4 separate regions of the Homo sapiens genome follow, and regions 2, 3 and 4 are each linked to region 1. Evidence: promoter capture Hi-C in 16 types of primary human blood cells and fetal thymus (Javierre and others, 2016). All regions are on one chromosome and are shown on one strand. Each heading gives the region's core, a stretch centred on a gene start or on the middle of the fragment in contact. The rest is flanking DNA. Distances are from core to core; before and after follow the strand shown. Region 1 holds the start of FAM210B (family with sequence similarity 210 member B). Region 2 has its middle 9.4 kb from the start of RAB22A. Region 3 has its middle 190 kb from the start of DOK5. Region 4 overlaps LOC124904938 (a long non-coding RNA gene).

Region 1 (2,953 bases), core at 284-2,783:
TGTTACTTTCACAGCTATAACTCCATCTTATGTAATAAATATTTTTTAATGCATATGTGTTTAATATCATTTCTGTGCCTGTGTAAGAGCTTGGTTGAGTTGAATTGCAGTTGACTAATAGAATATTACATCTTTTGTAAAATATATTTCTTTTTCTTTTTCTAGAGAGACAGGGTCTCGCTCTGTCACCCAGGCTGGAGTGCAGTAGCACCATCGTGGCTCCCTGAAACCTGGACCTCCTGAGCTCAAGCAATTCTGCGTCAGCCTCCCGAGTAGTTGGGACTACAGGTGCATGCCACCACACCAGGCTAATTTATTTTTATTTTTGTAGTGACAGGGTTTCGCTATGTTGCTCAGGCTGGTCTTGAACTCCTGAGCTCAAGTAATCCTCCCACCTCAGCCTCCCAACGTGCTTGGATTATAGGCATGAGCCATTCCACCCAGCCAGAACATCTTTATTGAAGTATAATTTACACAGCATAAAATTCATCCATGTTAAGTGTACAGTCCCACGAGTTTTAGTTACACAGCTGTCACCATCCCTACAATCTGGGTTTAGGATCCTTCCCTCACCCCAAGACGTTCCTCCCACTCCTTGGCAGTCAATCTCATTTCCCACTCCCAGCCCTAGGCCACCACGGATCTGTTTTAGGTCTCTGTGATTTTGCCTATTCTGGGCACTTCATGTAGCTGGAATCCTCCAGTGTGTGACTTTTGTGCCTAGATTTTTTCAATTGGCATAAGAGCTTTGAGATTCATTTATGTTGTGCATGTATCAGTAGTCTGTTCCCTTTAATTGTTGCATTGCGTCCCATTGAAGACTTGTGCCACAGTACGTCCCAGTTTATGGGCATTCCTAATTGTTGACTAATATTTATAAGATCTCTACAAACATTGGTGTCTTCACATTTTAGTCTTTGAGTGTCGAGCCTTTGTTTCTCTTGAGAAGCTACCGAGGAGTGGAGTTGCTGGGTTGTATGGTTAGTGTATGTCTAACTTTTCAAGAAACTGCCACACCATCTTTCGCTTTACATTCACGCCAACAATCTATGAGGGTCAGAGGACTTTTTATTAAACATGTACTAATATCAATTCTCATATTTATTTTCTTCTTTGGAGCTAACACGTAAACATATCTATAATTTTTTTTCAGATTTCACCCATTTCTGCAGGGAGAAAAGCTCATAAGCCACGGCCCTACGCCCACCTTTGTGCCCGCAGAATAAGGAAACCCGCCAACTACACACCACAGTTAGAAAGCCCAAGACCCTGAAAAGACCTGCACCCACCCCCAAAGGGGCGGGGCTGGTGGGCGGAGAGGAGGCGGGGCGCGCTCCTTCAGCCCCGCCCACCAGCCCTGGACTCCGGCTCCCGAGGAGCGGAGCTAGCGGGTGAGCCAAGGGGATGTGCACAGGCCTCCTCAGTCCCGCCCAGCGCGCGCGCGCGGCGGCGAAGCCGGCGGGCGGGGCCGGGGAGGGCCCTCGCCGGGTCAGCTCCGCCCACCCTCCCCGGCCTCCGCCCGCCTCCCGGGTCAGCGGCGCGGGTGCTGCGCCTAGCTGCGCACCATGGCCGGGTTGCTGGCGTTGCTGGGTCCGGCAGGCAGGGTGGGCGCCCGGGTCCGGCCTCGCGCCACCTGGCTCCTGGGCGCCACCGCCCCCTGCGCCCCGCCGCCCCTGGCCCTGGCCCTGCTCCCGCCCAGGCTAGACGCCCGGCTGCTCCGCACGGCGCGCGGGGACTGCCGCGGCCACCAGGTAAGCACCCCACCCCGACCCTGATCCCGGGCGGTGTCCAGGTCCCCAGACGTCCGCAGGGCCGCGCCGGGGTCCGGCCGCCTCCGCCAAGGACGCCTTTGCACTTGTAGCTGCCCGGGACCGAGCTCTTCCAGGGTCCCCGAAACCCCAAATCCCTGCAAGCCAAGGAAGCGATCCTCCTAGTTGACAGCCAGAGAAACTGAGGCTCGGGAAGGTGTGGCGCTCTGCCCAAGGTCGCGCAGTCTTCGGCCGAGCCCCGGGTCTGCAGAGCCTCAGCCAGGCTGGGGCGCAGCCGACTGACTTGGTCTGAACTTCCACACGTTGCCTGCGGAGTTGTTGTCCAGGCCTTCTGGCTGGGTCTCGCTGTGTTTTGAACACCTCCCGACGCTCGCTGCTCCTCCCTTTTCTTCTGAGTGGAAGAGCAGGCGTCCTCAGGGAAGCCGCGGGCAAGAAACCCACAGTGCTGTTTGTTATGTTTCATTTCCGTCACTTTCCATTGGTGCTAAGTGAAAACTGGTTTTCCTTCAGAGCAGTCATACCAGCTTTCCTTTCAAGAAATCTATCACTTTCTTCCAAGTGAGTCTTTTTAAATAAAAATAGTAGTAAATGAAGTCTGGCGGTCCAGGAATGGCAAGCCCAGACACGCGGAGCCGGCGTCCAGCCCGGAGCGCATCCGGCCTGGCAGTCTGGAGCCTCTTTGTTTGCCTGGGTGCAGACAGGGCCCCTCCATTCATCGCCCGGTGACCTCAGACCGAGTCCTGAAGGCTTTTGAGCTTGTTTTCTGACCTTTAGAGGGCCAAAAATAGCACCTTCCCAGCAAGAGTTTGGGAGACAACTCCATGAGCTGGTGCAGGCCTCAGCGGAGTGCCGCCGGCCCAGCGAACATCTCCTGACCGTTTCCTAGCTTTTCAGTAAGGAGCGGATGGGGATTGGACCCAGGCTTTCATCATGCCTCCTGCCCAGATCAACTTCCTTCCTTGCCTTCTCCAGTCCGACAGGTGGCACACAGGTCTTGGGGATCCTCTCCAGAGTGGCACCTTCTGCACACACCGTGCCGCCTCCTGATGATTCTTCAGGGCCCAGCCCAGCTGTTCCTTCCTCCGGGAAGCCCTCTCTAACGACCTGTGAGGTCTCGGATGCCTCCACTGGGCCTGCTTCCACCCCATGGCTGTGGGTCTTCTCTGCACTCATCTGGAATGGCC
Region 2 (2,953 bases), core at 274-2,773, 1.9 Mb after region 1:
GCAAACTTTCTCTATATAAACGTCATTCTCTAACAAGACCCACACTGATTTATTAGCTCTCATATGAGCAGATCCATCCAATGCATAATGTTTTATATTGCAAATCTTTGAGGGCTACTGATAGTTATTACTAGCACTATGCAATGGGCTGGCTGGAAAGACCAGCCTAATTCATGAGCAGCCATCCTTTCTATGCCATGCAGACATGGAAATTCCTCTTTGATTTGTGGCTTTAATCATGGCTTCCAAAACCCATCATTATTTATGACTCTTTTATTTACTTTTATTTTGAGATGGAGTTTCACTCTTGTTGCCCAGGCTGGAGTGCAATGGCGTGATCTTGGCTCACTGCAACCTCCACCTCCCAGGTTCAAGCGACTCTCCTGCCTCAGCCTCCTGAGTAGCTGGGATTACAGGCATGTGCCAGCATGCCCGGCTAATTTTTTTTTTTTTTTTTTTTTTTTTGTAATTTTAGTAGAGACAGGGTTTAACCATGTTGGCCAGGCTGGTCACAAACTCCTGACCTCAGGTGAACCACCTGCCTTGGCCTCCCAAAGTGCTGGAATTACAGGCGTGAGCCACCATGCCCCGCCGACTCTGACTTTTAAGTTGACAGTCAATGGGAAACAGGTTACCTGATAGGAAAGAACTCTGCAGCTCAAAGCAGTTCATATGCTCCATTTTAATGTTACCAATCTCCATTCTCCTGCCAACTCGCCCACTTGAGGGAGGGAGTTGAAGAAGATGAGGGTGGTAAAGTCTACACGGCGTTAATGAATGAATGAATGGAACAATATTACTTAAAAATGCAATGAGTTCTCTAGTCAGACTTGAGGTAGATGCAAAAGAAAAAAATGGTTGTAGAAGACAGTCAAAATCTTTGGGATGAGTATTGGGGTATAGGGTCCTCTATTTTCGTACTGTTCAAAATAGCTAAAACAATCAAGCAATGCTCTCAGACCAAGCAAGGTAACTTTACCAGCATCTCCAAAACCACCTCTTGCTCCATTCCACTTACCACCTCCCGCAATGGGTAACAACTCTCCTGCCTTCTGACAGCCTAGATTCGCTTTGCATCGTTTTATAGTTTGTACAAATAGAACCATGTAGTGTGTACCCTTTTGTGTCTGGCTTTTCAGATGTTTGTGAAATTATCCATATTACTGATTAGAGCTATAGATCATTCATTCTTACAGCTGCATGGTTTTCCATTGTGTGAACATACCAGAATTTATAATCCTTTGTAGTCATGATAAATATTTGAGTAGATTGCAGTTTCCAACTCTTAAGAATCATGCAACTGGCCCGGCACGGTGGCTCACGCCTGAAATCCCAGCACTTTGGGAGGCCGAGGCAGGCAGATCATGAGGTCAAGAGATCGAGACCATCCTGGCCAACATGGAAACCCCGACTGTACTAAAAGTACAAAAATTAGCTGGACCTGGTGGCGCGCCTGTAGTCCCAGCTACTCAGGAGGCTGAGGCAGGAGAATCGCTTAAACCCAGGAGGCAGAGGTTGCAGTGAGCCAAGATCACGCCACTGCACTCCAGCCTGGAGACAAAGCAAGACTCCAACTCAAAAAAAGAGAATCATGCGACTATGAACATGTTTTTTGAGAATATATGTCTATGTTTTGTTGGGCATATAACCAGGAGAATTGGTGGGTTATTCAAATTCTTTTTTTAAGGTTTTCAGAGTACATATAAATCATGCAAATCTGTGCTGGAATCTTCCATCCCTGACGAAAAGCCTCTTGAAGCCCTCCAGCTGCTTCTTGAAAGGCTGTGCTTTCTCCTGCTGGGCTGTGAGTCCCAAACGCAGTGACCATTCCTCAAAGTGCCCAGTGCCTAGCCACAGCCTGCTGTATTCTTCGCCTTGGCTACCAGGCATGGGACACTTTGACCACTGAGCTACTGGATTCCAGACCACACTGCCTCAACTTCCAAAACCTTCTCAATTAACTCCAATCTGGCTTCCACTTCTTGGCTGTGCTGAACTACTCACTGAGGTGAGTGAAGACGCCCTAACTGCCAAACTCCATGGCCTGTCTTCAATCCTCATCTTACCTGACCCTTCCGGGGCAAGTGACATAAATAAATGATTATCCAATCAAAACCCTGGCTCCAAGGGTCTCCTGGTTTCTTAACTCCATGGCTAATTTCTAGAAGCCTCTGCTGCCCAGGGTGTACCCCTTCGCCTTCTTCTCCAACATTCCCTCTCATCCTGCTCCCTCTCATCCTGCTCCAGCTACCACTCACCACTAATGACTTTCACATCTCCTCTCCAGTCCTAACTGTGCTCCAGAACCCTACAAGGGGGCTTTCTGGTGTCCTCAACAATGCCACCAGGATCTGTGTCATTGCTTCTCATGTGCTGTCCAGTGCCATTCACTATGTTAGACCACAGGGACCCAAAGAAGGATAAGACCCATTCTAATGGTCAATGCTATTAGTAAATTAGCAAATGCTGCCACAGGAAAATACAGGGCTCAGGAAACACAAAGAAGGAGTGTCTAGCCCAGTCTGGGTAGAAGGGAATGGAGGTGTCAGAAAAGTTCTCCACGAGACCCTGTCTCTGAGTTGACCCTTCCCTCACCACTGGAACTATCTGTCAACCCTATTCCCCACTCCCGGGCTCATCTCCTTGATTGAGACCCCACTCCCCTCGCCTGAACCACGGGAACACACTGGGGACCCCACCCCAGCTTTTCCTCCACCAGTCTTTCCTTTCTTTAAAGCACAGAGCAGCTCTAGTCACTCCCTGGTTCAGATTCTCCAGTGGTTCCCATGACTCCATGGATAAAAGGCCAACACTTTACCTTACAATGGACTTAAGGGCTATGTATGGCCTGGCCCCCACCTCCTCCTCTCACCTCCTGTGTCTGTTATTCACTGTTCCAGACACACAGGCCTTCCTGCTAGTCCTTGACAAGGAAGAGCTGTATGCAGGAGGC
Region 3 (2,953 bases), core at 266-2,765, 1.7 Mb before region 1:
TATTTTTTCTTTTGACGTAGGTGTTGTTTTAATGGCTACCAATGTATCAGGAAATAAATACTGATTACATTGTTTGGATTTAACAGCTTAATAAATGGAACTGCTAGATATTTCTTTTGGCCTAAGAGTACTAGGAGAAGTATCACTGTGACATTAAGGGCACCATGAACAGGGAAAGCAGGAAAGCTCCCGCTCTGCATTGCCTTCTGCCTGGGGACAGCCCTGAGATGCAGGTTCTGTGGCTTGAGTGCCTAGCCCTGTATAGGACACACAAGCAGGGCTGGTTTCATGGATGTGCAACCCAGGCAGCTGCACAGGTCCCCATGCTCAGAAGCGTCCCACACTTGATTTAATGCTCTGCTGTAACCTTCTTGAAATTCTCAGTGTTTCCTTCTTTGAACTTGTGTTTTATAAGTAAAGTCTGATGGAATAATGGAGCCTGCCTGTGAGCAGAAGAGATATCTGCAGACTGAGTGAGCGCCTTGCAGCTTTATTTGCATGTAGCATTCACGATGCCCCATGAACACAGAATTCCAGGGGACCTGAGGTGCGTGGCAGTGAGTCCCAACGCAAATACAAACTATGAAAGGAAAATAAATCTTGGGACACCAAAATCATGAAGCCAAAGGGAAAAATAGTCAGGCTGGGAACTGCTTAGGGCAAACCTAACTTCCACTCTATACCTAAAATGATAGCTACTAAGATAAAACAGCTGCATACTTCCCTCCCTAGGAATTTCCTTGTGGACAAAAGATAGACAGAATTCAAAGTCATCCCTCTGCTCACTGAGATAAACGCATATCTGATGGCCTCCTTTGGAATGGCTAATCAGAAACTCAAAAGAATGCAACCATTTGTCTCTTACCTACCTATGACCTGGAAGGCCCCTCTCCGTTTCAAGTCCCACCTTTCCAGACTGAATCAGTGTACTTTTTTTTTTTATTTTTTATTTTTATTTTTGAGACAGAGTCTTACTCTGTCACTCAGGCTGGAGTGCAGTAGCGCACTGCAACCTCCGCTCCCCGGGTTCAAGCAATTCTCTGCCTCAGCCTCCCGAGTAGCTGGGATTACAGACATCCGCCACTACGCCCGGCTAATTTTTTGTATTTTTAGTAGAGACGGGGTTTCACCACGTTGGCCAGGCTGGTCTTGAACTCCTGACCTCGTGATCCACCTGCCTTGGCCTCCCAAAGTGCCGGGATTACAGGTGTAAGCCACCACACCCGGCCCCAGTGTACATCTTTCATGTATTGATTGATGTCTCATGTCTCCCTAAAATATATAAAACCAAGCTATGCCCTGACCACCCTGGGCACCTGTCATCAGGACCTCCTGAGGCTGTGTCATGGGCGTGTGTGCTAAACTTTGGCCAAATAAACTTCCTAAATTGAGACCTGTCTCAGATACCTGGGGTTCAAAAGGGAAGTATGTCACCTCTGTCGCTGAGTAAGAGGGGCCACGGCCCCGAAGCGGCTTTTCCTTTGAATCAGAGCTTGCTTCAAATGCAGAAAGAAGGCAATGGCATTCTAAGAAATATAAACATCTGAGGAAGCCTATTTCAACCTTTCTTACGTACATTGCTTCCTCGTACAACACAGAAGGAAAAGCAAATCTGGAGCAACCCGGATTTCCTTCCTTGTTCATCAGTAAGCCAGTGGTAGTGTTACTGGAAAAGGGTCCCAATCCAGACCCAAACAGAGGGTTCTCGGATCTCACACAAGAAGGAATTTGAGGTGAGTCTATAAAGTGAAAGCAAGTTTATTATGAAAGTAAAGAAATAAAAGAATGGCTCCTCCATAGGCAGAGGAGCCCTAAGGGCTGCTGGTTGCCCATTTTTATGGTTATTGATTATATGCTAAACAAGGGGTGGATTATTCATGAGTTTTCCAGGAAAGGAGTGGGTGATTTCTGTAACTGAGGATTCTCCCCTTTTTTAGACCATGCAGGGGAACTTCCTGACATTACCATGGATTTTGTAAACTGTCATGGTGCTGGTGGGAGTGTAGCAGTGAGGACGACCACAGGTCACTCTCATCGCCACCTTGGTTTTGATGAGTCTTAGCCCGCTTCTTTATTGCAACCTGTTTTATCAGCAAGGTCTTTATGACCTGTATTTTGCAGACCTCCAATCTCATCCTGTGACTTAGAATGCCATAACTATCTGGGAATGCAGCCCAGTAGGTCTCAGCTTTATTCTACCCAGCTCGTATTCAAGATGGAGTTGCTCTGGTTCAAATGACTCTGACAGTGGAGTGTCGGTAGAATATGCATGTATCAAGTAATGAGATGCAAAGAAGTGGGGTAGTTCTATGCAGCATTTCTGCTGTTTTGGCAAGAAGAGAACACATAAGCAAGTATATGAGCTAGGAAAAATGAGCTGTGTAATTTTCGTGATTCAGCACATGAATTACATGTTCTTATATTAACATTTAGAAAGGACATTATACAATATAAAGGTAAATGGTGAAATTCATGCCCATAATTTAAAATTTCAGTTTTTTGTTTTTACTTATGACATCAAATAGCAATAAAAAACCTACAATGACAAGTTGAGAGGAAGAAAGGAAAAATGTTTGTATTTTAGTTCCTTTGACCCACTTTTTTTCCTGCTTTTGGAACAGGAAGTTCACGTTTTCATTTTACACTGGGTCTCCTGATTCCGTAGCCGCCCTGTCCTGAAGGTGCCCCTTGAGAAGAAGGCAACTGAGCGGGACTGGGGATTGTTCGTTGACTTTTTCTGTCTCTTTTGTGCTTCTTCATGTGGCTCCCACCCAGGACTGATGCTCGCCTTTTAAAACTCGCAGTCCAGTCATTTAATAATTGACCTCGGTTGAGGACAGAAGCCACAGGGTTCCTATTTTAATCAAATCCTCAAGCCAGTCACAGTGACTGCACAGAGCTAAATGCTATAGAATTATTTTCCTCATCACTGAATTCCTTTTAGAGTTGTACC
Region 4 (2,953 bases), core at 257-2,756, 1.0 Mb after region 1:
ATTGAAGCTTGATTATCTCAGCAGCCAACTTTCATATTCAGCTTTAGCTTAGCCAGAGTTTCATTGTTTTTACCACCCCTAGTGACGGGCTAGGGTGGAAAATGAGTCTAAATTGCAGGCCTTTTAGAGTGCGCTTTCCCAGGATGGGACCTTGCCACCTCCCCAAGGGGATAGTTTTTGTAATTGGCAAATTTAAAACATTTGCATAAATCCAAGATTGGACTGGGCTGTCAGAACCTGGGAGGGAGCTCTGCTGCCACCAGGATGTGAACCCTAGATGAGGCCCAGGCTCATTTCTCTGCTGCCCAGGACCTAAAGCATAAAAGCACACTACATGTTTGCTAATGAGGATCTAGGAAGTATTCACTGAGATCGTTAAGCTTCTTCAAATATTTATGTTCATGTTTCCTAAAATGCATATGAAGTCTTAGAGGAACTCTTCATCTTAAACTTCAGCATCTTTGCAGGCACCTGTAAGTTGCATGCAGTAGGTGCTCATTAAGTATTCATAAGTTTGATGGCATCTTCTACTTCAAAGAGATACTAGTGTAATCTTGGCTCTTTGTTTCACTAAATGTCAAGCCGTCCTGCCATTAAATATTGACTGCACACCCTGTTAAGAGCTGCTTTCGTTGAAAGTAAAGTATATAAACCTCATGGAGAAGACAAATTGTGTTCTTTCACTTAATTTTTTCCAACATATGAAAATTTTAAAACATCCACAAAAGTGGAAAGGGTTTTGGCAGTGAACATACACCTGCCATCTGCCTGCCACCAGGATGCCACCATGAACACTCACCTTTCCCTTGATTTTCTGCTTGGTTTTGCCTGGCTTTCCTCCCAGTCTTTGTTGTAACATCGCTTCCTTGGTTCCTCACTGTGGGAACAGGGCCTCATGGGAAGAACTTTGTGTAAAGATGCTGCTGCAACAAGGTGGCAGGGATTTAGGGTGGGCACAGGAAGGTGCACTCGGTTCCTGTCATGTTTGGTTGGAAGCAGGATGGAGCTGTGGTGGGTTTGTGTGAGACACCTGTCTGTGAGCCTGTGCTCACGTGTGTGCACGTGTGCATGTGAGCCTGCCTGTGAAAACCCTCTCAGTCAAAGGGGCCAGCTGAACCCGCCTGCCTCACCCCGTTTTCGGGTTAGCTTCACACCAGAGATCCTCTGGCAGAGGAAGAACAAAGGATGCGGCAAGTGCCTGGCCTGCTGGCAGTGAGCTTGCTGACTTTCACCAGAAAATCACCACCAAGAGAAGGTAAACAGCAAGGGCCAGGCGTGGTGGCTCACGCCTGGAGTCTCAGCACTTTGGGAGGCCAAGGCGGGAGGATCACTTGAGGCCAGGAGTTCCAGACCAGCCTGGGCAACAAAGCAAGACCCTGTCTCAAAGAAATTTTATTGAGTCATGTAGGAAATGTTTGTTTTTCTCATTCAACCAAAATTTTCGTCTCTTTTGGAGGAGAGACTCTAAAACATGAACTAAACACATGTTCTTGAACACTCGGGAGTGCCTAAGCCAGCCTTTTCCGAATTCACTCATGACCCATTCGTAGGTTGTGAAATGAACGTAGTTGTTGCAGTGAGCGTTTCTTTTAGTGGAGCCACACAAAATCACAGAATCTATGTATGTATGAGATATTTTCATATCCTGGGGTGGGATTCTTCTCTGTGCCTGTCACTTTTTGTATGGTTTAGGATGAGTTCTTAGCTTCGGTGACCTCAAGTACTAAGCCATAACTGCACTTGAGGTCTCCCCAAAATGGGAGGGATGATTATATTAATTATATTTGAAATAACCTTATAACATTGCAATTAAGAACAGGGGGCTGGGTGCGGTGGCTCATGCCTGTAATCCCAGCACTTTGGGAGGCCGAGGCAGGCGGGCCACTTGAGGCCGAGAGTTCCACACCAGCCTGGCCAACAAGGCAAAACCCGTCTCTACTAAAAATACAAAAATTTGCTGGGCACGGTGGCACCTGCCTGTAATCCCGGCTACTGGGGAGGCTGAGGCGTGAGAATTGCTCAAGTGCTTGAGCCCAGGAGGTGGAGATTGCAGTGAGCCTAGATCACGACAGAGTGAGACCCCGTCTCAAAAAACAAAAAAACATGTACTTGAAATTGGACTGCCCACCTTCAATTCCAACTCTGTCACCAACTTTGCTAACATGTGATTTACCCTTTGTTTAAGCCTGTGATTTAACCCTCTGAGCCTCAGTGACCTCATCTGTAAAATGGGAGACATTAAAAGTAGCTATCATAATGGTTGTGTGAGTAGTCAAAGAGTTAAAGCGTAAAAGTGCCCCTGTGGCTGGCCCGTGATGTGGAGTTTGAATGTAGCTGCTACTACGAGTGCCAGTGAGGATGACATCCATGAGAAGTCTCCTGCTCAATGGGGCTGTGCTGTCGGTATACAGGCGGGACAAAAAGGTCCAGAGACCAAGTGACTGGAGATCTTGCTTGTCTCTAAGATTCTTTCCCCAGGAGCCGGGTGTTGTGCTTAGGTCTGGCCAGCAGATGGCGCGAATGGCCCCAATGCCAACATTGGAGCATGTGTTTCTGTGTTCAGTTTCACAGACTTGAGTTCATTAAAAGAAATGAAGTGTTGGCCACCCCCTTCCATTTTTTGTTGTGTTGCTAAGCTTTTAGGATATTTGGGAAGTAGAATCAAAACATTGCTTATGCTGTCAGAAGAATCGTCTTAAAAATAACACACTTAGATTGAAGGCCTCCTTGGAAAATGCTAAAGGAGATAATTTGTCAGAGGTGGGACCCTGATTTTTCTGTTTCAAACTTAATGTCCGCGATGGTTTCCTCGTGGAACACTGAAGCCTTGGCGCCCGCGGTGTGGGGGCCTCTGAGCACTCCCGTGCCCCATAGCATCATCCCTGCCGTGATATGGGAAACACAAATCCCTGGTGGTGGCAAACAGGTCACTTTAAGACTCGTGTTAGTAACT

The links. The method cuts DNA at HindIII sites, captures the fragments that hold promoters and counts their contacts. A CHiCAGO score of 5 or more calls a contact.
Region 2: a fragment that was not itself captured here is called in contact with the fragment with the promoter of FAM210B in region 1 in 1 of 17 cell types (total B cells); the score reaches 5.4 in total B cells.
Region 3: a contact is called between a fragment that was not itself captured here and the fragment with the promoter of FAM210B in region 1, in 1 of 17 cell types (endothelial precursors). The highest score is 6.3, in endothelial precursors.
Region 4: a contact is called between a fragment that was not itself captured here and the fragment with the promoter of FAM210B in region 1, in 1 of 17 cell types (non-activated CD4 T cells). The highest score is 5.3, in non-activated CD4 T cells.

Annotation. Positions count from the first base shown.
Region 1 is chr20:56,357,441-56,360,393 of GRCh38, forward strand. It overlaps FAM210B (family with sequence similarity 210 member B), which reads left to right and starts at 1,534. Exons shown (of 3, transcript NM_080821.3): 1 at 1,534-1,751. The coding sequence starts at 1,566. RefSeq lists a silencer at 1,211-1,810. The HindIII fragment of the contact is 7,749 bases long and covers 1-2,953 here.
Region 2 is chr20:58,298,796-58,301,748 of GRCh38, forward strand. It overlaps the pseudogene PPP4R1L. Among named protein-coding and RNA genes, the nearest start is that of RAB22A, 9.4 kb to the right of the region's middle. The HindIII fragment of the contact is 3,290 bases long and covers 1-2,953 here.
Region 3 is chr20:54,659,198-54,662,150 of GRCh38, forward strand. No RefSeq gene overlaps it. Among named protein-coding and RNA genes, the nearest start is that of DOK5, 190 kb to the left of the region's middle. RefSeq lists an enhancer at 2,729-2,953. The HindIII fragment of the contact is 4,644 bases long and covers 1-2,953 here.
Region 4 is chr20:57,379,450-57,382,402 of GRCh38, forward strand. LOC124904938 (a long non-coding RNA gene) reads right to left here. Exons shown (of 2, transcript XR_007067671.1): 1 at 1-2,953. Among named protein-coding and RNA genes, the nearest start is that of RBM38, 10 kb to the right of the region's middle. RefSeq lists an enhancer at 2,324-2,618. The HindIII fragment of the contact is 2,256 bases long and covers 379-2,634 here.